Linked DNA regions of Homo sapiens: all the other regions are linked to region 1. The links are contacts of gene promoters, found by promoter capture Hi-C in human tissues and cell types (Jung and others, 2019). All regions are on one chromosome and are shown on one strand. Each heading gives the region's core, a stretch centred on a gene start or on the middle of the fragment in contact. The rest is flanking DNA. Distances are from core to core; before and after follow the strand shown. Region 1 holds the start of ZNF700 (zinc finger protein 700). Region 2 has its middle 12 kb from the start of ZNF20. Region 3 has its middle 7.1 kb from the start of ZNF441. Region 4 overlaps ZNF441 (zinc finger protein 441). Region 5 holds the start of ZNF844 (zinc finger protein 844).

What was found. The method cuts DNA at HindIII sites, captures the fragments that hold promoters and counts their contacts. A contact is called where the count stands out against the background at its distance.
Region 2: a fragment that was not itself captured here is called in contact with the fragment with the promoter of ZNF700 in region 1 in 14 of the 25 tissues and cell types used here (H1 embryonic stem cells, IMR-90 fibroblasts, adrenal gland and 11 more).
Region 3: a fragment that was not itself captured here is called in contact with the fragment with the promoter of ZNF700 in region 1 in 4 of the 25 tissues and cell types used here (bladder, dorsolateral prefrontal cortex, heart right ventricle and 1 more).
Region 4: a contact is called between a fragment that was not itself captured here and the fragment with the promoter of ZNF700 in region 1, in 2 of the 25 tissues and cell types used here (bladder and mesenchymal stem cells).
Region 5: a contact is called between the fragment with the promoter of ZNF844 here and the fragment with the promoter of ZNF700 in region 1, in 2 of the 25 tissues and cell types used here (adrenal gland and small bowel).

What each region holds. Positions count from the first base shown.
Region 1 is chr19:11,923,242-11,927,491 of GRCh38, reverse strand. ZNF700 (zinc finger protein 700) reads right to left here and starts at 2,385. Exons shown (of 4, transcript NM_144566.3): 1 at 2,219-2,385. The coding sequence starts at 2,281. It also overlaps a transcript of ZNF69 not described here. RefSeq lists a silencer at 1,923-2,122 and enhancers at 2,513-2,622, 2,673-2,722, 2,170-2,742, 2,899-3,688, 3,689-4,250. The HindIII fragment of the contact is 4,963 bases long and covers 384-4,250 here.
Region 2 is chr19:12,126,541-12,130,790 of GRCh38, reverse strand. No RefSeq gene overlaps it. Among named protein-coding and RNA genes, the nearest start is that of ZNF20, 12 kb to the left of the region's middle. The HindIII fragment of the contact is 9,523 bases long and covers 1-4,250 here.
Region 3 is chr19:11,757,759-11,762,008 of GRCh38, reverse strand. No RefSeq gene overlaps it. Among named protein-coding and RNA genes, the nearest start is that of ZNF441, 7.1 kb to the left of the region's middle. The HindIII fragment of the contact is 5,499 bases long and covers 1-4,250 here.
Region 4 is chr19:11,782,842-11,787,091 of GRCh38, reverse strand. It overlaps ZNF441 (zinc finger protein 441), which reads right to left. Exons shown (of 4, transcript NM_152355.3): 4 at 3,014-4,250. Among named protein-coding and RNA genes, the nearest start is that of ZNF491, 14 kb to the left of the region's middle. The HindIII fragment of the contact is 7,851 bases long and covers 1-4,250 here.
Region 5 is chr19:12,062,309-12,066,558 of GRCh38, reverse strand. It overlaps ZNF844 (zinc finger protein 844), which reads right to left and starts at 1,828. Exons shown (of 4, transcript NM_001136501.3): 1 at 1,683-1,828. The coding sequence starts at 1,685. RefSeq lists a silencer at 1,384-1,563 and an enhancer at 1,654-1,743. The HindIII fragment of the contact is 18,413 bases long and covers 1-4,250 here.

The DNA.
Region 1 (4,250 bases), core at 1,136-3,635:
GAAGCTTTTTCTTTCTTTTTCCTTTTCTATTTATTTATTTATTTATTTATTTATTTATTTATTTATTTAAATAGAGACAGGGTCTCGCTGTGTTGGCCAGGTTGGTCTTGACCTCTTTCCTGTTTGTTTTGGTTTTTGAGATGGGGTCTCACTCTGTTACCCACACTGGAGTGCAGTGGTACATCCTCGGCTGGGCTGCAACCTCTGCCTCTGGGGTTCAAGTGATTCTCTCACATCAGCCTCCTGAACACCTGGGACTACAGGTGCAGGCCACCACACCCGGCTAATTTTTGCTAGTTTTGGAAGAGATGGGGTTTCACTATGTTGCCCAGGCTGGTCTCGAACTCCTGACCTCAAGTTATCCTCCCACCTTGGCCTCCCAAAGTGCTTGGATTACAGGCCTAAGCCATCATGCTGGCCCAGAGTAGCTTTCAATAAACTCTCTTCTCACTGCACTTTGTGACTCGTCTTGAATTCCTTCCTGTGTGAGATTCAAGAACTCTCCTGGGGTCTGATCAGGACCTCTTTTCCTGGTAATACAAGCAAGAACTTAACTTCCAGTTTTGGAGTACTGAGTCTATTTCCCTAGAGTCTGTGTTTTTCCCAAATGGGCCACTGCTATCCTTCCGCTTGAATAAACTCTTCCAACTGAAATCTTGACCTTTCTATTATTTCGGAGTGACAAGTCCAAATAAGGCAACTGCATCTCTGCAACCAATCAAGCATTTATCTGGTTTGTCTCCTCACGTAACTTATAAAAGCTTACCCCTAAACTGGTAAACTAAAAATAAAAACATACCTCTGGCCCGGCGAGATGGCTCACATCTGTAATCCCAGCACTTTGGGAGGCTGAGGTGGGTGGATCACTTGAGGTCAGGAGTTCGAGACCAGCCTGGCCAACATGGTGAAACCCCATCTCTACTAAAAATACAAAAATTAGGAGGGCATAGTGGTGCATGCCTGCAATCCCAGCTACTCAGGAGGCTGAGGCAGGAGAATCACTTGAACCCGGAAGGTGGAGGTTGCAGTGAGCCGAGATCAGGCCATTGCACTCCAGTCTGGGCGACAGGAGACTCCGTCTCAAATAAAAACAAAGTACCTTTCCAGCTAAGTGAAGTGACCGGCTCTTGGCCAACAGGACCCGCAAAAAACCCTGAAAATTGAGTGCCTCTGTATGACAGGATGGGAGGTGAGACAGGTCTCCTTATACCCTCTCCCACACATTCATGTAAAAATAGATAGAATGGAAAAACAGACTGCTTGTGGCAAGAAGATACTAACTTACAAACAAAACCTAAGGCCACGCAAGGCAAAAGTAAAGTCACGCCTCAGAATTCATAAAATCTAGAGAAACAGGTCTGTTTTCTGGCTGGGATGGAATCAAGTGGCAGATAACAGACCCCCTTCCTTCCTACCTCCTCCAAACTTTAGACAAACTTCACACTCTCAACCAGCTGCCACCTACAGAATCCCTCAACCACCTGTGCCTTCTAACCCCCCTTCCACAGGTCCCACCCTTTCTGCCAATGGAACTTACACCTTTCAGGCACTGATTCATCATTTTCCCTGCAATTCCTGTCTCTCTGAAATGAATAAAACCAAACTGTCTTGAGCCGCCTCGGGACCACTTACTCCAGGCTGCTTGGGGTTGTGTTTCCCTCGGCCAAGGTCTCTCCTATTCGGCTCTGAATAAACTTCTTTATTTTACATAGTTTGGCTTTTTCCGTTGACAAACCACAACCCAGGACGGGGTGTTTCTCATTCGTGAATCGCTGTTTGCTCAAATGAACTCTTTAATTGTTAACGTACCTCAGTTTAATTTTTAACAGGAGAAAGTGGGGACTGGGGGCCCCACAGACCACTGCTCCTCCCACGCACGAACCCCACACCCGAGTCAGGATGCCTCCATGACCCTCCCGTTGCTTCCGCACAATCTGGGGAGACGCGGGGCTGCGGGAGCGGAACTGCCCAGAGAGGGCTCCGGGGCAGGGGCCGCGGCCGCAGTCGCCGCGCAGGGACGGGACAGGACGCCCGGGTCCTGGCTGCTGGCCCAGCCCCGTCCAGCGGCCAAGGGGACCGAGGGCCGAACTGCTCAAGGAGGACTCGGTCCCAGACCCCGGAGTCGCCCACAGGGAGGCCCGGGTCCCGCCACAGCCGGTTCCCGCCTGTTCCAGGCAGCCCCTCCCCCGTCTCACGACATCTGGTCCCGCACACGCACCATTTCCCGGCTTTCAGATGTACCGGGGTCCTCTCTACAGCTCCTGTGACTACAGCAGGGCATAGCGCAGGCGACAGAGCGACAGAAGCCTGGGTACAGGCACCAGGTCCCTCTCGGGCTGGTCTGACCGGTTACCAACCGCCGCCCGCGCAGCGAGGAAGGTGAGGAAAGCGACCCCCTCCATTTCCGGATGAACTGTGGGCAGTGCCACGCCCCAGCACCTCTGATTGGATGAAATACTAGGTCCCGCCCCCCACATCTGAGTGACAGCTGAAGCCCTGGGTATCAGGCCCCGCAGAGCCAGACTGACGGATTCTAGCCACAGCTTCTCTAAGGGCGAGCTGCTTTCTGCACTCTGGTTATTGGATATTTGCATTTCAGCCAAACTTGCTATTGATAGAAGAGAACACTAGCGTCATCCTCACTCAAGGGACAGTCCCCGCTCCTTCGTTCTGCACGGGGTCACAGGAGTGTGCAGGGAATTTCAGACTCAGTGTCCATAGGAGCCAACTGCTGGCCTCAGAGCAGCAGGGGAACCGAGACCAGGCCAGGCACGACTGCACCAGGAGGAGAGGCATATGTCCTCGAGCGGGCCGGAATTGGGGATGAGGCGTGGCCAAGCCTTGCTCACACACCCCCATCCCCTTGTGAAAATGCTTCCTCCTTTCAGATCTTCATTTTCACCAGCAGGAAACTCTCACCAGGTTTTGTTTCTGACCTAAGTAAACTGTCAACTTCATGAACCCTTTATCCAGGTGACGCCACCAAACAATTCTGTCTCTAGCTCTAGCCTGATCTTCACACATTTTCTTTTCTTTCTTTCTTTTTTTTTTTTTTTTTTTGAGACGGAGTCTTGCTCTGTAGCCCAGGCTGGAGTGCAGTGGTGCGATCTCGACTCACTGCAAGCTCCGCCTCCCGAGTTCACGCCATTCTCTTACCTCGGCCTCCGGAGTAGCTGGGATTAAAGGCGCCCGCCACCACGCCCGGCTAATATTTTGTATTTTCAGTGGAGACGGGGTTTCACCGTGTTAGCCAGGATGGTCTCGATCTTCTGACCTCTTGATCCGCCCGCCTCGGCCCCGCAAAGTGCTGGGATTACAGGCGTGAGCCACCGCGCCCGGCCACACATTTTCTTTATCTATACAAATAACTCTGACCCCAACGACCCCATGCATGTCAAACCCCAAACCCTGCCCAGAAGACAGCTCCAGAGGTACAACACCAGAAAGGACAGAGACGCCACAAATGCGTCTGCACATGGGTCTTCTGCTTTCCAGGGCTCTGCAGCTTCTCGGAATCCACACCCTTTCTGGAGCTGCTCTGAGCAGCTGGAGGCCACTTGTAGAAGGGGGTGGGCTGCCCGCGAAGCCCCCAGGGAAACTCTCTTTCCCTCCCTTTGCAGGCTGCAGAGACTGTCCTCAACGTGGAATCACTGGCCTTGGGCTCTGCTGCCCCCTGCAGGTTATTCAGCTACTTCTCACCCCATCGATTAGTTTCGCGAGACAAACACCTTCAATCCCATTGTGTAAATAAGACACCAGCAGAGTCCCTGCTCTCCTCCTATGCTTATGTATAAAGTGGGGGAGGAAAAATCTAAGATAACTTAAGGGCATTTGAAAGACTTCCAGATCGCGGTGGAGGTGGCAGCTGAGGGACTCGCAGTCAATGACACTGCAGCACCTCCAGGCCAGGCTGGTGGGAGAGAGGGTGGAGAGCTGGAGATGGATGTGGATAGGTGGAGGGAGCTGCCCTGGGAACTGGGCTCTGCAGCAGTGCGGCTCTAGGGCCCGGAGCCCGGGAGAGCAGAGATGGGGGCTCCCAGGACAGGAAACTCAGGGAGGAGAGAGTCGGGTGGCTTCCATGGGACGGGGTGCTGTTGCAGCTTGTGTGAGCCAGTAGCTATCATAACTAAGCCCAATCGGGACGTGAAAACTTGGATTCCGTGGGAATTTATGAAGAGGAAGGCTCTGATGACAAAGAAGTCATCGATGAGGAGGGGGATGAGGGTCACTGGCAAGCTTGCTTCCTTATG
Region 2 (4,250 bases), core at 1,178-3,677, 200 kb before region 1:
CATTGTTAACCATAACATACCTCAGTTAAAATCTATAAATTCACTTCTTATCAAGGTATATACTATGATTTTATTTATTTATTTTTTGTAGAGATGGAGTCTCCCTGTTTCCCAGGCTGGTCATTGACTGCTGGATCATGTGATTCTTCTGTCTCCATCTCCCCAAGTTCTGGGATTACAGACATGAGCCACCACAATTGGCTACTACTTTTTTAAAAAAATCACCTTGAGTCCTATGGGGCCAATATGTTTTTGAAAACTGAATTTCCTGCCCAGTAAAGAACAAAGTCAGCATCACTATTCCAATCAAGTCTTTCTTTCTCTGGTAACATGCTGTTGATGCAAACTTGTCAGGAACCCTCTTATGCTAATATTATGAAGCTAATGACATCGTGGAAAAGTCATGCATGGAACAATCCGATCATTTCCTTTAAGGTGTCATGGGTGCTTCTCTTCACAAAAGCTTATTTCAGTCTCCCTAGAGTAAAAATCCCAGTCCCAGCAGACATAGAAGCAATCACTGACTGACCAAACCTTAACTATGTGTGATGACATATGGAAAATACCTTGATTTGTGAGATATGAATTTTTTTTTTTTGGAGACAGAGTCTGGAGGACAGTGGTGCAATCTTGGCTCACCGCAACCTCTGCCTCCTGGGGTCAAGTGATTCTCCTGCCTCAGCCTCCCAAGTAGCTGGAATTACAGGCACCTGCCACCATGCCTGGCTATTTTTTTGTATTTTTAGTAGACAGGGTTTCACCATGTTGGCCAGGCTGGTCTCAAACTCCTGACCTCATGTGATCCACCTGCCTCGGCCTCCCAAAGTGCCAGGATTACAGGTGTGAGCCACCATGCCTGGCCAAAAATTCCTTTTTTTTTTTTTGAGATGGAGTCTTGCTCTGTTGCCCAGGCTGGAGGGCAGTGGCGCGATCTCGGCTCACTGCAAGCCTCCGCCTCCCTGGTTCACGCCATTCTCCTGCCTCAGCTTCCCGAGTAGCTGGGACTACAGGTGCCCGCCACCACGCCTGGCTATTTTTTTGTATTTTTTTTTTTAGTAGAGACAGGGTTTCACCATGTTAGCCAGGATGGTCTCGATCTCCTGGCCTCGTGATCCGCCCACCTCGGCCTCCCAAAGTGCTGGGATTATAAGTGTGAGCCACCACGCCTGGCCCAAAAATTCTTATTTTGACTATTCATGTCTTATTTTTGCACTTTTTCACAAAGCAAGGTCAAAAAGCAAAGGAAAAATCCTTTAAGATCAATGTACTTAGGTTGAAAATGTGTTTTTTCTCAGGAAAAACTTGTAATTTATATAATTACAATCCTCAGTTTATTTGCAGCATCACCAAATTTTCTTACATATTTCAAATGTGAACTTAAGATATATATTTTTCTCATTATTTACATTTTGCTTCCTACCTATGGCTTTTTTTTTTTTTTTTTTGAGACAGAGTGTCGCTCTGTTGCCTAGGCTGAATTGCAGTGGCACGATCTCAGCTCACTGCAACCTCTGCTTCCCAGGTTCAAGCAAGTCTCGTCACAACCTCCCAAGTAGCTGGCACTACAGGCGAACACCACCATGCCCAGTTAATTTTTGTGTTTTTTGTAGAATTGGAGTTTCACCATGTTGGCCAGACTGGTCTCTAAACTCCTGGCCTCAAGCGATCCATCTGCCTCGGCCTCCCAAAGTGCTGGGATTATAGGCATGAGCCAACATGCCTGGCTCCTCTAGACCTTTTAAATCTTTTACTCATGATATTGGTCAGCCCACGGTCAAAATAATTCATAAAAGGTATATACAAAAATTCAACACCACAATGAAAGTTAAATTCATTTGTTTAGAACCACTCAAGCAACTCAGGTGTACACAGATAGACCTGTGGCAACTGGTGAACAATTAAATGGCACAGAAGTGGCTGGGTGCAGTGGCTCATGCCTGTAATCCCGGCACTTTGGGAGGCCGAGGCGGGCGGATCATGAAGTCAGGAGATTGAGACCATTCTGGCCAACATGGTGAAACCTGTCTCTACTAAAATACAAAAAATTAGCCGGGCGTGGTGGCGGGCTCCTATAGTCCCAGCTACTCAGGAGGCTGAGGCAGAGGAATCCCTTGAACCCGGGAGGCAGAGACTGCAGTGAGCTGAGATCGTGCCACTGCACTTCAGCCTGGCAAAAGAGCAAGACTCTGTCTCAAAATAAATAAATGGCACGGAAGTTGCAATAATGACCTCTGCTGTGCAGTACTCTCTTGGCAGAGATACACAAGAACTCCAATAAGGCCCTCATATGATATGCAGAACTGCCTCAAACATCATGTGACCATAGAACTTTGCCAAGGACAGTCTTTTTGTACATCTCTGCACCTGGCTTACCCAAAGATTGGACTGGGCGCATTTCTCAAGCCATTGTCTACTGAACGTTCTTTGTAGCGTGTGGGGCAATGACGATTGCCTAGGTGTAATTTCCTAATCGCTGGGGTAGGTCTGGTTTCTGAGGGCCCAGCAGAGGAACTCAGTTCACAAAAATGGCTTCCTGTAGTTTCTGCTTGATACTTCCTATTCTGCCATCTTCCCAGAATCCTCTTTCCTGACTTCATATACTAACACGTCATTTCAGATCTCACTACAGATGTCACCACCTCAAGACACTGTCTTCTTTTCCGCCCCCCTTACCCCAACTTGAAACTCAAGGTCACACTCTCTCACCCATTACTCCTATTTCATTTAGTGTGTAGAATTTTTTCAACACACTTGTCAGAATCTGGAACATAACGTTCACAGGGTTGATTGCTCTCTGTTTAACAAGGTAAAAAGTTAAGTCATGTAGGCTGGGTGCGGTGGCTCACGCCTGTTATCCCAGCACTTTGGGAGGCCAAGGTAGACAGATCACGAGGTCAGGAGATCGAGACCATCCTGGCTAACATGGTGAAACCCTGTCTCTACTAAAAATACAAAAAATTAGCCGGGCGTGGTGGCGGGCGCCCGTAGTCCCAGCTACTCAGGAGGCTGAGGCAGGAGAATGGCATGAACCTGGGAGGCAGAGCTTGCATTGAGCCAAGATTGTGCCACTGCACTCCAGCCTGGGTGACAGAGCAAGACGCTGTCTCAAAAAAAAAAAAAAAAAAGTCATGTAAATTTAAGTGTCACCTTTCTTTTCTTTTCTTTTTTTTTTTGAACCTTTTCACCAACTGTTACACACTTTTTTTTTTTTTGAGACAGAGTCTCGCTCTGTCGCCAGGCTTGAGTGCAGTGGTGCGATCTCAGCTCACTGCAACCTTCACCTGCTGGGTTCAAGCAATTCTCCTGCCTCAGCCTCCCGAGTAGCTGGGATTACAGGCACGCACTACCACACCTGGTTAATTTTTGTATTTGTATTTGTATTACAGATGTGAGCCACCGCGCCTGGCTTACACCCTATATTAAAAAGTATTTCAGGGGCCAGGCACGGCGGCTTATGCCTATAATCCCAGCACTTTGGGAGGCCAAGGCGGGCGGATCACTTGAGGTCAGGAGTTCTAGACCAGCCTGGCCAACATAGTGAAACCCTGTCTCTACTAAAAGTACAAAAATTAGCCGGCTGGGGTGGTGGCCACCTGTAATCCCAGCTACTCGGGAGGCTGAAGCAGGAGAATCACTTGAACCTGGGAGGCAGAGGTTGCAGTGAGCTGAGACTGCAACACTGCACTCCAGCCTGGGCAACAGAGCAAGACCTTGTCTCTAAAATAACATAACATAACATAACATAACATAACATAACATAACATAACATAACATAACAACATAACATAACATAAATACAGTAGAGTAGAGTAGAGTAGAATTTCCAACAAAGTCCTTTGAACCATTTTCCAGAAAGGCAACGTCAATGAAGCTCCCTCTTGTGGTAAGGGCGGCATTAACATCCACACACTGTTGTGACTGGATTTCTCAAAATTGCACAGGGATCTAAGAGTGGAAAAACTCAAAATGTTTTTCCTGTGCATTCACACAATGCAATATCTCTATGACCAAATATGTGGAAGATTTTCTCACACAGCAAACAAGCCATCCATTCTCCACTGAACACCACCTGAGTGTCCTCTAATTCACGTGTCCCCAACTCTCGGGTACAGACGGGTACCTGTCCATGGCCTGTTAGGAACTAGGCCACACAGCGGGAGGTAAGCAGAAGCGAGTGAGCGTTACTGCCTAAGCTCTGCCTCCTGTCAGAGCAGCAGTGGTATTAGATTTTCTTGGGTTGATAACCCTAT
Region 3 (4,250 bases), core at 969-3,468, 170 kb after region 1:
TAATGGCGCGATCTCGGCTCACCGCAACCTCCGCCTCCCAGGTTCTTCAAGCGAATCTCCTATCTCAGCCTCCCGAGTAACTGGGATTACAGGCATGCACCACCATGCCCGGCTAATTTTTTGTATTTTTAGTAGATATGGGGTTTCTCCATGTTGTTCAGGCTGGTCTTGAACTCCCAACCTCAGGTGATTCACTCGCCTCAGCCTCCCAAAGTGTTGGGATTACAGGAGTGAACATGTGCAATCTTTTTCCTTCTTTATTATCCTTTGTTATTACCCAATAAAAAGCGTAAGTTTCCCATTGGGATAGTGAGACATCTTTCATTAGTCTTTTGTCATACTTAACTGAATTTGGTCTAGAGGAAAGCAGATGCCACCTTCCAAATAGTCTCCTATAATGTGTTCAGATTGGATGGGCTTTATCCTTTAAGTAACAAGTTGTGACAAAATGTGGGAAATGTTATCTACCAAAAAAAGCTCATAAGAGACCCAGTGGTGAGTGGTTTTTTCATGCTTATCCTAGTATGTTTTCTGTTGCTTATAACAGAATAGTAGAAGCTGAGTAATTTATTTAAAAAACAATATTTCTTCCAGCCTGGCCAACATAGTGAAACCCTGTCTCTATTAAAAATACAAAAATTATCCAAGTGTGGTAGCATGTACCTGTAGTCCCAGTTACTAAGGAAGCTGAGACAGGAGAATTGCTTGAACCCAGGAGGAGGCAGAGGTTGCAGTGAGCCGAGATCGTGCCACTGCACTCCCATCTGGGCAACAAAGCAAGAGTCCATCTAAAAAGAAAAGCCAAAAAACAACAAAAAAAATTATTTATTATAGTTCTGGAACCTAGCAAGTAAGAGGGCTTCATGTGGTGAAAGCCTTCTTGGTCATGGGGGCTGTGCAGAGTTTCTAGGTGGTTGAAGGTATCACATGGAGAATGGGCTGAATGTGGTAGCTCAGGTTCCCTTCTTTTTTAATATGGCCATCAGTCCCACTCCTGAGATAACTCATTAATTCAGTAAGCCATGAATTCATGAATGGATTAATTTATTTATGAGGTCTGAACCCTTAAGATCTACTCACCTCTTAAAGGCCTCACCTTTCATTAGTGCCACATTGGCGATTATGTTTCAACAAGCATTTTGGAGGGGACAAACATTCAAACCTAGCAGTGAATGGCCGGGCGCGGTGGCTCACTCCTGTAATCCCAGCACTTTGGGAGGCTGAGGTGGGTGGATCACGAGGTCAAGAGATCGAGACCATCCTAGCCAACATGGTGAAACCCTGTCTCTACTAAAAATACAAAAATTAGCTGGGCATGGTGGTGTGCGCCTGTAATCCCAGCCACTCGGGAGGCTGAGGCAGGAGAATCGCTTGAACCCAGGAGGCGGAGGTTGCAGTGAGCCGAGATTGCGCCACTGCACTCCAGCCTGGAGACAGAGCAAGACTCTGTCTCAAAAAAAACAAAAACAAAAACAAAAACAAGCAAAAAACCTAGTAGTGAATGATCAGGTATGCTCCCTCTGCCAAGCATATCACAAAAGTTTGAACTCTCAGAGGGAACATAGGAGTTCAGCAGATACCATATTTTTTACATAGTTTAGGGACACTCATCCTCCATTATCGCTTATGTTGGTGAAGCCCCCTAACTAAATTTAGTTCCTAGATATAGTGAAAGGTTCAACTTTGTGAGCAAGCATTTGTAACAATATGCGGTCTCAGGACAGCTGATGTTAACTCTTCTGCCCATTAGGTAGGAGGACTTTGTCACATCAGGAATTACAAACATCCTGTACACATAGATATTAGGGGTGATCTAGGCAATAAATGTCACTCCTTTAACTCACCAAGGAGTGGCATTTTATAATTCGACTGTTATTTTACCAAACACGTTTAATTCTAGCATTAGAATTGCATTCTGGGAGAAAATGAGTTTAGAAAGAGGGTAAGAGTTGGATTACCGTGTCGTTGCATAAATGTTTGGACACCACAGCATCATGTGACATTTATGTAGTGAGTACAGATTCCCAGTGCTGTCAGTTTCAGCTTTCCTCCTCTGCACGTGTCGGGTGTTTCAGGACTCAGTGGCCTTTGAGGATGTGGCTTTGATCTTTTGCCTGGGAGGAGTGGGCTTTGCTGGGTCCATCATAGAAGAGTCTCTACAGAGATGTGCTACGGGAAACCATCAGGAACCTAGACTGTATAGGTAAGGGGGACATCATGTCTTTACTTAGTCAATTACGAATATTTGTTTCTTCGTCACCAATGCTGTTCAAAGATTTAGAATATAAAAGAAATACGTTTGACCCTTGAACAATGCAGGGATTAGGGGCACCAGCCCTCAATGCAGTCACAAATCTTCAAATAACTTTTTTCTCCCCCGCAACTTGACTACTAATAGCCTACTGTTGACCAGAAACCTTACTGGTAAGATATACATTCAATTAACACATATTTTATATGTCATATGCATTACATATTGTTTTCTCACAATAAACTAAGGCAGAGAAAAATGTTAATCAGAAAATCACAAGGAGAAAAAACTATATTTACTATTTCATTAAGTAGAAGTGGAGCATCATAAATGTTATCATCCTTATTGTCTTCACATTGAGTAGGCTGAATAAGAGGAGGGGTTGGTCTTGCTGTCTCAGTAGTAGCAGAAACTGAAGAAAATTTGTATGTAAGGAGATCTATGCAGTTCAAACCTGTGTTGTTGAAGAGTCAACTGTGGTTTGGTGAATAAATCATCCATAACTGCAGTCTACATAAAATCTTACATTTTTAATATAATTTTATTTTTATTTATTATTATTTTTTTTTTGAGATGGAGTCTTGCTCTGTCACCCAGGCTGGAGTGTAGTGGCACGATCTTGGCTCACTGCAGCTTCTGCCTCCTGGGTTCAACTGATTCTCCTGCCTCAGCCTCCCGAGTAGCTGGGACTACAGGCGCACGCCGCCATGCCCGGCTAATATTTTTTTGTATTTTTTAGTAGAGACGGGGTTTCACTGTGTTGCCCAAGCTTGTCTCGAACTCCTGAGCTCAGACGATCCACCCACCTCGGCCTCCCAAAGTGCTAGGATTACATGCGTGAACCACCGCCCCCGGCCTCAATGTAATTTTATAATAATATATAGTGATTCTTCTGGGTCTACATTTTAGGAATGAAATGGGAAGACCAAAACATTAAAGATTAGTACAAAATTCCCAGAAGAAATCTAAGGTAATTTGCCCTAGGAAGAGAAAGATATGTCTTTGGAATAATTCTTAAAGTGACAGGAAATTTTTCACACCTATAATTCCAGCACTTTGAAAGGGTGGGGGGGTGGGGCGCAGTTCAGGAGGTCGGGAATTCGAGACCAGTCTGGCCAACATAGTGAAACCCTGTCTCTACTAAAGATACAAAAAATTAGCCAGGCGTGGTGGTGTGAACCTGTAGTCCCAGCTACTTAGGAGGCTGAGGCAGGAGAATCGCATGTACCCGGGAGGAGGACGTTGCAGTCAGTCGAGATCATGCCATTGCACTCCAGCTCAGGCGAAAGTGCAAGACTCCGTCTAAAAAAAAAGACAGGAAAATTTTAAAACAAGCAAAATAAATAAATAAATAAATAAATAAAAAAGAATAATCCTGGCTTAAATTTATTCACTCTTAGAAAATTTTCTTCAAAAACATACTTAAATGGGACATAGCTGTTAAGTGTGTCTGCAAAATAATTTCCTTGGAAAACAGTACTAAGAATTCCCACGTGAATATTACTGTTCCGATGATAGCCACAGTTGAGTTATCTTGCACAGCATTCAGTCCGTTCATGTTCAAACAGGGCATGACACCTAAGCTTTGCATGATAATGTCAACAATGTAAATTTAAGACCTATTAATATATATAAAAAACACTTATAAACAAACCTGTAGTAATTGTACTTCTCTGTTTTTACAGATATCATATGGTAGACTGATTCTGTAAAAGTAAAGGAGGTAGATAATTTGGAGAAACTTTCAGCCACATTCCAGGTGGTATTGTGAACAACAAAAATCTCCCTTGAGGCCGGGCTCGGTGGCTCACGCCTGTAATCCCAGCACTTTGAGAGGCTGAGGCAGGCAGATTACCTGAGATTGGGAGTTCGAGACCAGCCTGACCAACATGGAGAAACCCCGTCTCTACTAAAAATACAAAATTAGCCGGGCGTGGTGGCACAATGCCTGTAATCCCAGCTACTCGGGAGGCTGAGGCAGGAGAATCCCTTGAACCTG
Region 4 (4,250 bases), core at 594-3,093, 140 kb after region 1:
TGCCCAAGGTTGTTTCACATCTAGAGAGAGTAAAGAGTAGAATTGAGGTCTTCTGCCCCCTTCACTTGTTTTTTGTTGTTTTTTCCTCATTGCACTGTACTGCTTCCTCATGATATACCTCTGAAGACCATCTTGATAAATTCTTCTGTGTGGAAGAGTTTAAGCAATCACATTCATCTTATTTGACATTTTCTTCTATTTGAGACAGGGTCTCACTGTGTCACCCAGGCTGGAGTGCAGTGATGCCATCACGGATCATTGCAGCCTCAACCTCCTAGGCTCAAGCAATCCTCCCACCTCATCCTCTGGAGTAGCTAGGACTACAGGTACATGTCACTATGCCTGGATCATTAGAAAGAAAATTTTTTTGGTAGAAATTAGGTCTTGGTATGTTGCCCAGGCTGGTCATTCATAGGTGTTTAAAGTGTGATAAATGGATGATTTAAGTCTGATAGAACTTTTACACATATTATACATTTAAGCATATACACATGGAAGCTCCTGGGAGTTGGTTATGTTTACATGGTGGAAAAAAAACCCTTCAAAATAATTATTAGTTTGAGAAAAATACATCAATAAATAATTTCTACGTCAACACATTGTTTTTTGTTGTTGTTGTTGTCGAGATGGAGTCTCGCACTGTTGTCCAGGCTGGAGTGCAGTGGCGCCATCTCGGCTCACTGCAGGCTCCACCTCCTGGGTTCATACCATTCTCCTGCCTCAGCCTCCCGAGTAGCTGGGACTACAGGCGCCCGCCAACACGCCCAGCTAATTTTTTGTATTTTTAGTAGAGACGAGGTCTCGCCGTGTTAGCCAGGATGGTCTCGATCTCCTGACCTCAGGTGATCCACCCTCCTCGTCCTCCCAAAGTGCTGGGATTACAGGCGTGAGCCACCGCTCCCGGCCTTGTCAACACATGTTATATGTAAAAAAGCTAATCAAATGTGAGCTTCCAACAATTCCCTCTGCTTCATTCTTCTGACTTTCAACAGATCATGGTTAACACCAAGGGCTCTGTGTCTGAGGTTTCACATGTTTACGTCACCTATTTTAAATGGTCTCAACCTCACTCCACCACCACTGACCCATCAAATCATTTCCGCAGCTAAATCCGAAGTATTCTGTAAATAGCTTTCCCTTTCAAGGAGTCTAACTGGACTCAGGTTGAACTCCCTTGTGGCTCTCTCATGTTCCTTGATTTATTCATTTGAAATTGTCTTCCAGAGCCGGGCGCGGTGGCTCATGCCTGTAATCCAAGCACTTTGGGAGGCCGAGGCGGGTGGATCACGAGGTCAGGAGATCGAGACCATCCTGGCTAACACGGTGAAACCCCGTCTCTACTAAAAATACAAAAAATTAGCTGGGCGTGGTGGCGGGCGCCTGTAGTCCCAGCTACTCGGGAGGCTGAGGCAGGAGAATGGTGTGAACCCGGGAGGCGGAGCTTGCAGTGACCCGAGATCACGCCACTGCACTCCAGCCTGGGTGACAAAGCGAGACTCCGTCTCAAAAAAATAAATAAATAAATAGTCTTCCAGGAGAGATTGTGATATACTAAGTGAGGACCTCATCCATTTTATTTGCTTCTCTTCTCCCTAACCTGCTACACTACTTCTTCATTGAAGGCACAGAATATTTTAAACTGACCATCACTTGCTGTAAATTCTGGAGATCTCAGCACAATTCAGAAATCCACACCCTAAAGGAGTTATGTGTGGATGTTAATGCCATCCTCACCACGAGAGGGAGTTCGTTGTCTCTTTTTCTGCAAATCGGTGCAAAGCAGTTTTTTTTTTCTTTTGAGACGAAGTTTCGCTCTTGTTGCCCAGGCTGGAGCGCAATGGTGCGATCTCGGCTCACTGCAACCGCTGCCTCCCGGGTTCAAGCGATTCTCCTGCCTCAGCCTCCCGAGTAGCTGGGATTACAGGCGCCTGCCACCACGCCCGGCTAATTTTTGTATATTTAGTAGAGACGGGATTTCACCATGTTGACCAGGCTGGTCTTGAACTTCTGACCTCAGGTGATCCACCCTCCTCGTCCTCCCAAAGTGCTGGGATTACAGGCGTGAGCCACCGCGCCCGGCTTTCTTTCTTTTTTTTTAAATCTACGGGATAACACTTCATAAAAGTAACAGTGACACTATTCAGTTTGGTTCATTTATATGATTTGACTTTTCATAGGTTGTTAAGAAAGCAGTAAAGTCTGTGAACCTAATCGGATTTCCCTGACTCTGAAAAGTGTATTAAAAAAAATGTATATATGGAAAGGAGTAACTGAGGTGACAGAAAGACTTGCTGAGGAGGTGACATGTGGGATGGGACCTGAAGTAATGTATTAGTATAAAAAGTCAGGTCAGAGGATTCAAGGAAGATGGCAGAATAAAAAGCATGAAGAATCTGTATCCCCCACCTGGATTTGCATTGGCAGAATCCAACTCATGTAGCTATTTTGAAACTGCGGATACTATTAAAAGCTTGCAGCTTCCAGGGAAATAATTGGCTAATAAAATTGGGTTAATTTCGGTCAATTTCAACTCTTAGTTGAGTCAGCAGCCCTGACTCATTCCCCCTCCTCAGCTCCATGACAGGTAGCTATGCATAAGTTCTAACAGCAGTCTGCATGCAGTTTTGGGGGGCCAGGGTGGACAAAAAGGACCTGTCTTCCAAATATTGGGGATCTGCGCACTGCTTGATAATTGTTGCTTCTGATCACAGAGTTACAGACAAAGAAGTGGTGGTGACTGTTGCTGCTGCATCTCTCTCCATTTTTTGAAGGCCCTTCCCCTCCATCTGAAGTGACTTCCAGGCTGGTGCCTTTTATTTTTCCCTTAATGCTTTTATTCCTCTCCTTTTGAGAGCCACTGAAGATTAGGTTGTGCAAAAATAACCATACATGCAGAGAAAATTAGACAGTTACCACACATGCCCAGGGACAGGTGCAACTAAGAAAAGACCTGAGAAGAACTTAAGTTTACACCTTAGGCTGTTCCTCAGCCCACAGACACCTGACAATAGTGTTATTTTAAAACTATCTTATATATTTTCTTTTATTGATACATATTTTACATATATATAAGGTACACATGAGCATTTCTTGCATGCATAGAATGTGTAATGGTCAAGTCAGCGTATTTGGGGTATCCATGATCTTGAGTATTTACCACTTCTATGTGTTGGTAACATTTCAAGTCCTCTCTTCCAACTACTTTGAAATATGCAATATATTTTTGCTAACTATAGTTCACTCTAGTATGCTTTCTAACATCAGAACTTATTCCTTTGATCTAAATGGAAATTTGTACATATTCACCAATTTCTCTTCATTTCCCCTTCTCAGCCCCGGATAACTTATTCTATTCCCTATCTCCATGAGGTGAAGTTTTTCACCTCCCACATATAAGTGAGAACATGTGGTATTTGTCTTTCTGTGCCTGGCTTATTTCACTTACCATAATGACCTCAAGTTCCATCCATGTTGTTAGCAATAACATTTTACTCTTTTTTATGGCCAAATAGTATTCCACTGTGTACATAAACATTTTCTTTATCCCTGTGTCCACTGATGGATGCTTAGGTTAATTCCATATCTTTGTTATCATGAATAGTGCTGTGATAAATATGCAAGTGCAAGTATCTCTTTGATATACTGATTTCTTTTCCTGTGGTTATACTTGGTTTGCTGGATCATGTGGTGGTTCTATTTTTAGGTTTTTGAGAAATCTACATACTGTTTTCCACAGTAGTTGTTCTAATTTATACTTTCACCAACAGTGAAAGTTTTCTTTTCTCCACATCCTCATCAGCATTTGTTGTTTTTTATCTTTTTTAGTAAGAACAATTCTAAGTAGAGTATCTCATTGTGGTTTCAATTTGCATTTTCCTAATCATTAGTGATGTTGAACATATTTCCATATACTTTTTGGCCATTTGCATGTCTTCTTTTGAGAACTGTCTGTTCACATCCTTTTCCCACTTTAATGGGATTATTTATATTTTTTGCTGTTGAGATGTTTGAGTTCCTTGTATATTTGGATATTAGTCCCTTGTCGCATAGTTTGCAAATATTCTCTCATATTCAACAGGTTTTCTCTGCACTCTTGTTGTTCCCTTTACTTTGCACAGCTACTTTTTAGTGTAAGATAGTCTCATTTGTCTATTTTTATCTTTGTTGTCTGTGCTTTGAGGTATTAGCCATAAAATCTTTGCCTAAACCAATGTCCTGAAGTATTTTCAATATGTTTTCTTCTAGTAGTT
Region 5 (4,250 bases), core at 579-3,078, 140 kb before region 1:
CAACAAAAAAAAAAAAAAAAAAAAAAAAGAAGACATTTATGTTATAGTTTAAATGATAATAGCTCTTCCTTAAACACTGCCTTCCTAAAGCTAATGAAAAACCATGAGTCGGGGCGGGGGGAACAGAGTGGGGAGCGATGAGGAGCCTGAATTTTGCTATGGTATAGACTGGTCCCAAGATACTTCTGCAGATAAGTGTTTTCAGGTTTTTTGCTTGTCTGACACCCATGGCTCCACTCAGGCCCACCAACCCTGCTCCTCTATAAGCAACTCAGCACTCAGGAGGACCATTTCCCACCACCTCTTCCCCGATTCTGCCTTTGAAAAACCCCTGGCCGAGTTCGGTGGCTCACACCTGTAAACCCAGCACTTTGGGGGGCCGAGGTGAGCAGATCGCTTGAGCCCAGGAGTTCAAGACCAGCCTGGGCAACATGGCGAAACCCCATCTCTACCAAAAATACAAAAATTAGCCGCCTGCGCCTGTAGTCCCAGCTACTCGGGAGGGTGAGGCAGCACAATCACCTGAGCTGCTGCTCAGGTGGGTCCAGGATGCAGTGAGCCGTGATCGCGCCATGCACTCCAACCTGGGCGACAGAGTGAGACCTTGTTTAAAAAACAATTTTTAGCCGGGCCAGGTGGCTCACGCCTGTAATCCTAGCCCTTTAGGAGGCCGATGCGGGCGGATCACCTGAGGTCAGGAGTTCAAGACCACCTTGGCCAACACGGTGAAACCCCGTCTTTACTGAAAATACAGAAATCAGCAGGGCGTGGTGGCGTGCCTGTAACCCCAGCTACTAGGGAAGCTGAGCAGAAGAATCGCTTGAATCCGGGAGGCAGAGGTTGCACTGAGCCCAGATCGTGTCATTGCACTCCAGCCTGGGCAAAAAAGAGCGAGACTCTGTCTTAAAAAAAAAAAAAAAAATTGTAAGAAAAAAATATTAAAGAAAAATCCCTAACTATAAGCCTTCGGGGAGACTGATTTGAGTGCTAACTCTGTCTCCGTCTTCGGCGTTGCGTGGTCCATCTCGTGTCAAACATTTTCTTTACTGCAATGCCCTGGTCTTTCTTTTTGCAGCACAGGCAGGAAGAACCCCTCAGGCGATTACAACAACAAAGCATCTAGTACACATTGATCATGATGTGAACAAAAACACGACAGCAGTTGCCAAGCTCTAAGCCACAGACAGCAGGGAAAACATTTATCCGCTGTCACAAGTTCTCCACGCTAGGCCAGGCGCGGTGGCTCACGCCTCTATTCCCAGCACCGGGCCTGTTTAAGTTTTAACAGGAGAAAGGGGGCACTGAGGGCCTCACAGCGCAGCTCCTCCCGCACGAGCCCCACACCCAAGGCGGGATTGCCCCCATGACCCTCCCGTGGCCCCGCACAATATGGAGAGGCTCCGGGCTGCGGGCGCGGAGCTGTCCAGAGAGGGCTCCCGGGCTGGGGCCGCAGTCGCCGCGCGGCGACGAGACAGGGCGCCCAGGGGTCCCGGCTGCCGGCCCAGCCGCACCCGGCGGCCGAATGGACCGAAGGCCGAGCTGCGCCAGCGGGGCTCGGGCCCCAGACCTCGAGTCGCCGCGGGGAGGTCCGGGTCCCGGCACAGCCGGTTCCAGCCAGTTCCAACCAGCCTCCGCCTACCCTCCCCCAAGTCTCGGGACTCCCAGCGGGGGCTCACACTCACCATTTCCTGGCTTTCAGGTGACTCCCACGTCCAAAGCAGTCACAACACAGACGACAGGGCGACAGAAGTATGGCGGTGGCAACCGGTCCCTCTCAGAGCAGGAAAAACGGGGTGCCAACCTCACCCGGCGGGAGGGGCCAAAGACTGAGGCGAACGGCAATGTGACCCGCGGATAAACAGTTGGCCGGGCCCCACCCCGGCGACTCTGATTGGGTGGAGCGCCAGGCCCCGCCCCCTGCATCCTGAGTGACAGCAGAAGTCCTGGGTAACAGGGCCAAGCAGAGCAGGACTGACCGCTTCAAGCCACAGTCCAAGGTCAAGTTCCCTCTCTACGCCCTGCTCTTTGAAAATTTGCATTTCGGCCAAACTTGCTCGTCTTAATTACTAGAAGTGGCTCTGTCAATGGTCTGTCCCTGCTTCTTCGTCCTGCACAGTGTCATAAGTGTGTGCAGGGAGTTCCAGACTCTATGTTTAATAGAGGTGAAAGCAATTAAAATATTTTATTCCAAAATATATTTATTTGGCAATTTCGAATGGCTGCAGCTTTGCCCTTGCACAACTGTCTTCTGGGGGGTGAAATTTGCGTCTATGGAGTATTTCCATTAGTGAAGCCATGCCCCCTCTCCCCTTTTCCCTTTCCCTGATCCGGGAGAAATTGAGAGTCTGACACTTTTAAAAGTCTGGAAAGCCGGGCGCGGCGGCTCACGCCTGTAATTTCAGCACTTTGGGAGGCCGAGGCGGGTATATCACCTGTGGTCGGGAGTTCGAGACCAGCCTGGCCAACATGGTGAAACCACATCTCTACTAAAATACAAAATATTAGCCAGTCGTGGTGGCGGACGCCTGTAATCCTAGCTATGTGGGAGGCTGAGGCAGGAGAATCACTTGAAGCTGGGAGGCGGAGGTTGCAGTGAGCCGAGATCATGCCACTGGACTCCAGCCTGGGCAACAAGAATGAAACTCCGTCTCAAAAAAAACAAAAACAAAAAAAGTCTGGAAAGAGGCCAGGCAAGGTGGCTGGGGCCTGTAATACCAGCACTTTAGGAGGCCAGGGCAGGAGAATCACTTTGGCCCAGGAGTCGAGGGCTGCAGTGAGCTGTGATTGCACCAGTACACTCCAGCCTGGGCAACAGAGTGAGACCAAAAAACAAAATAAGTAAGAAATTCTGGTTTTGCTTTTTTTTTTTTTTTTTTTTGAGATGGTGTCTTGCTCTGTTGCCCAGGCTGGAGTGAGTGACGCGATCTCGGCTCACCGCAAGCTCCGCCTCCCGGGTTCACGCCATTCTCCTGTCTCAGCCTCCCGAGTAGCTGGGACCACAGGCGCCTGCCACCATGCCTGGCTAATTTTTTGTGCTTTTAGTAGAGACGGGGTTTCACCGTGTTAGCCACGATGGTCTCGATCTCCTGACCTCGTGATCCGCCCGTCTCGGCCTCCCAAAGTGCTGGGATTACAGGCGTGAGCAACCGTGCCCGGCCAGAAATTCTTAAAAGAAGCATTTTGCATCCATTCTCTCTGTGGGAGTCTTCATCTATGTTGTGGGTGAGTGGCTACTATCTGGGCCAGTGGCGCAAGGGTAAAAGAATTTATCAAGACTGGCCGGGCGATGTGGCTCACACCTGTAATCCCAGCACTTTGGGAGACCGAGGCGGGCGGATCACCTGAGGTCAGGAGTTTGAAACCAGCCTGGCCAATGTGGCGAAACCCCATCTCTACTAAAAATACAAAAATTAGCCGGGCTTGGTGGTGGGCGCCTGTAATCCCAACTACCCAGGAGGCTGAGGCAGGAGAATCGCTGGAGAATCGGGAGGCAAAGGCTGCAGTGAGTCGAGATTGTGCCACTGCACTCCAGCCTGGGCAACAGAGCAAGACTCCATCTCAAAAAAAAAAAAAAAAAAAAAAAGGGATTTACCAAGACAGTTGTAGGTAAAAAAAAAAAAAAAAAAAAAAAAAAAGGCAGATTTATTAAGGAAAATATGAAAGTACCTTGCAAGAAGGCAACAGGCAGAACCAGCAGAAGGGAGCCGGCTGCAAAGAAACAAAGGTTTGCTAGAGATTTTATAGAATGCAACTTGGGAACTTGCATTGTTTTGTCACCTGAAATGTTTGATAAATCAAGGTTTTTGATGGTAAGCAAGAAATTTGTGAGTTATGTACATTATTTGTTTAGGAGGGCTATTTGTTCTGGGCCGTAAAGAAAGTGATACCTATGGCCAGGCACGGTGGCTCACGCCTGTAATCCCAGCACTTTGGGAGGCCAAGGCGGGCAGATCACCTAAGGTCAGGAGCTCAAGACCAGCTGGCCAACATGGCGAAACCCAGTCTCTACTAAAAAATACAGAAATTAGCCAGGCCTGGTGGCGGGTGCCTGTAATCCCAGCTACTCTGGAGGCTGAGGCAGGAGAATTACTTGAACCTGGGAGGTGGAGGTTGCAGTGAGCGAGATGCTGAGATTGAGTGACTGCACTCCAGCCTGGGTGACAAAGTGAGATTCCATCTCAAAAAAAAAAAAAAAAAAGTTTTTCTGGACTTTGAAAAACAAAAGAATTAGCAATATTTTAAACAAAAAG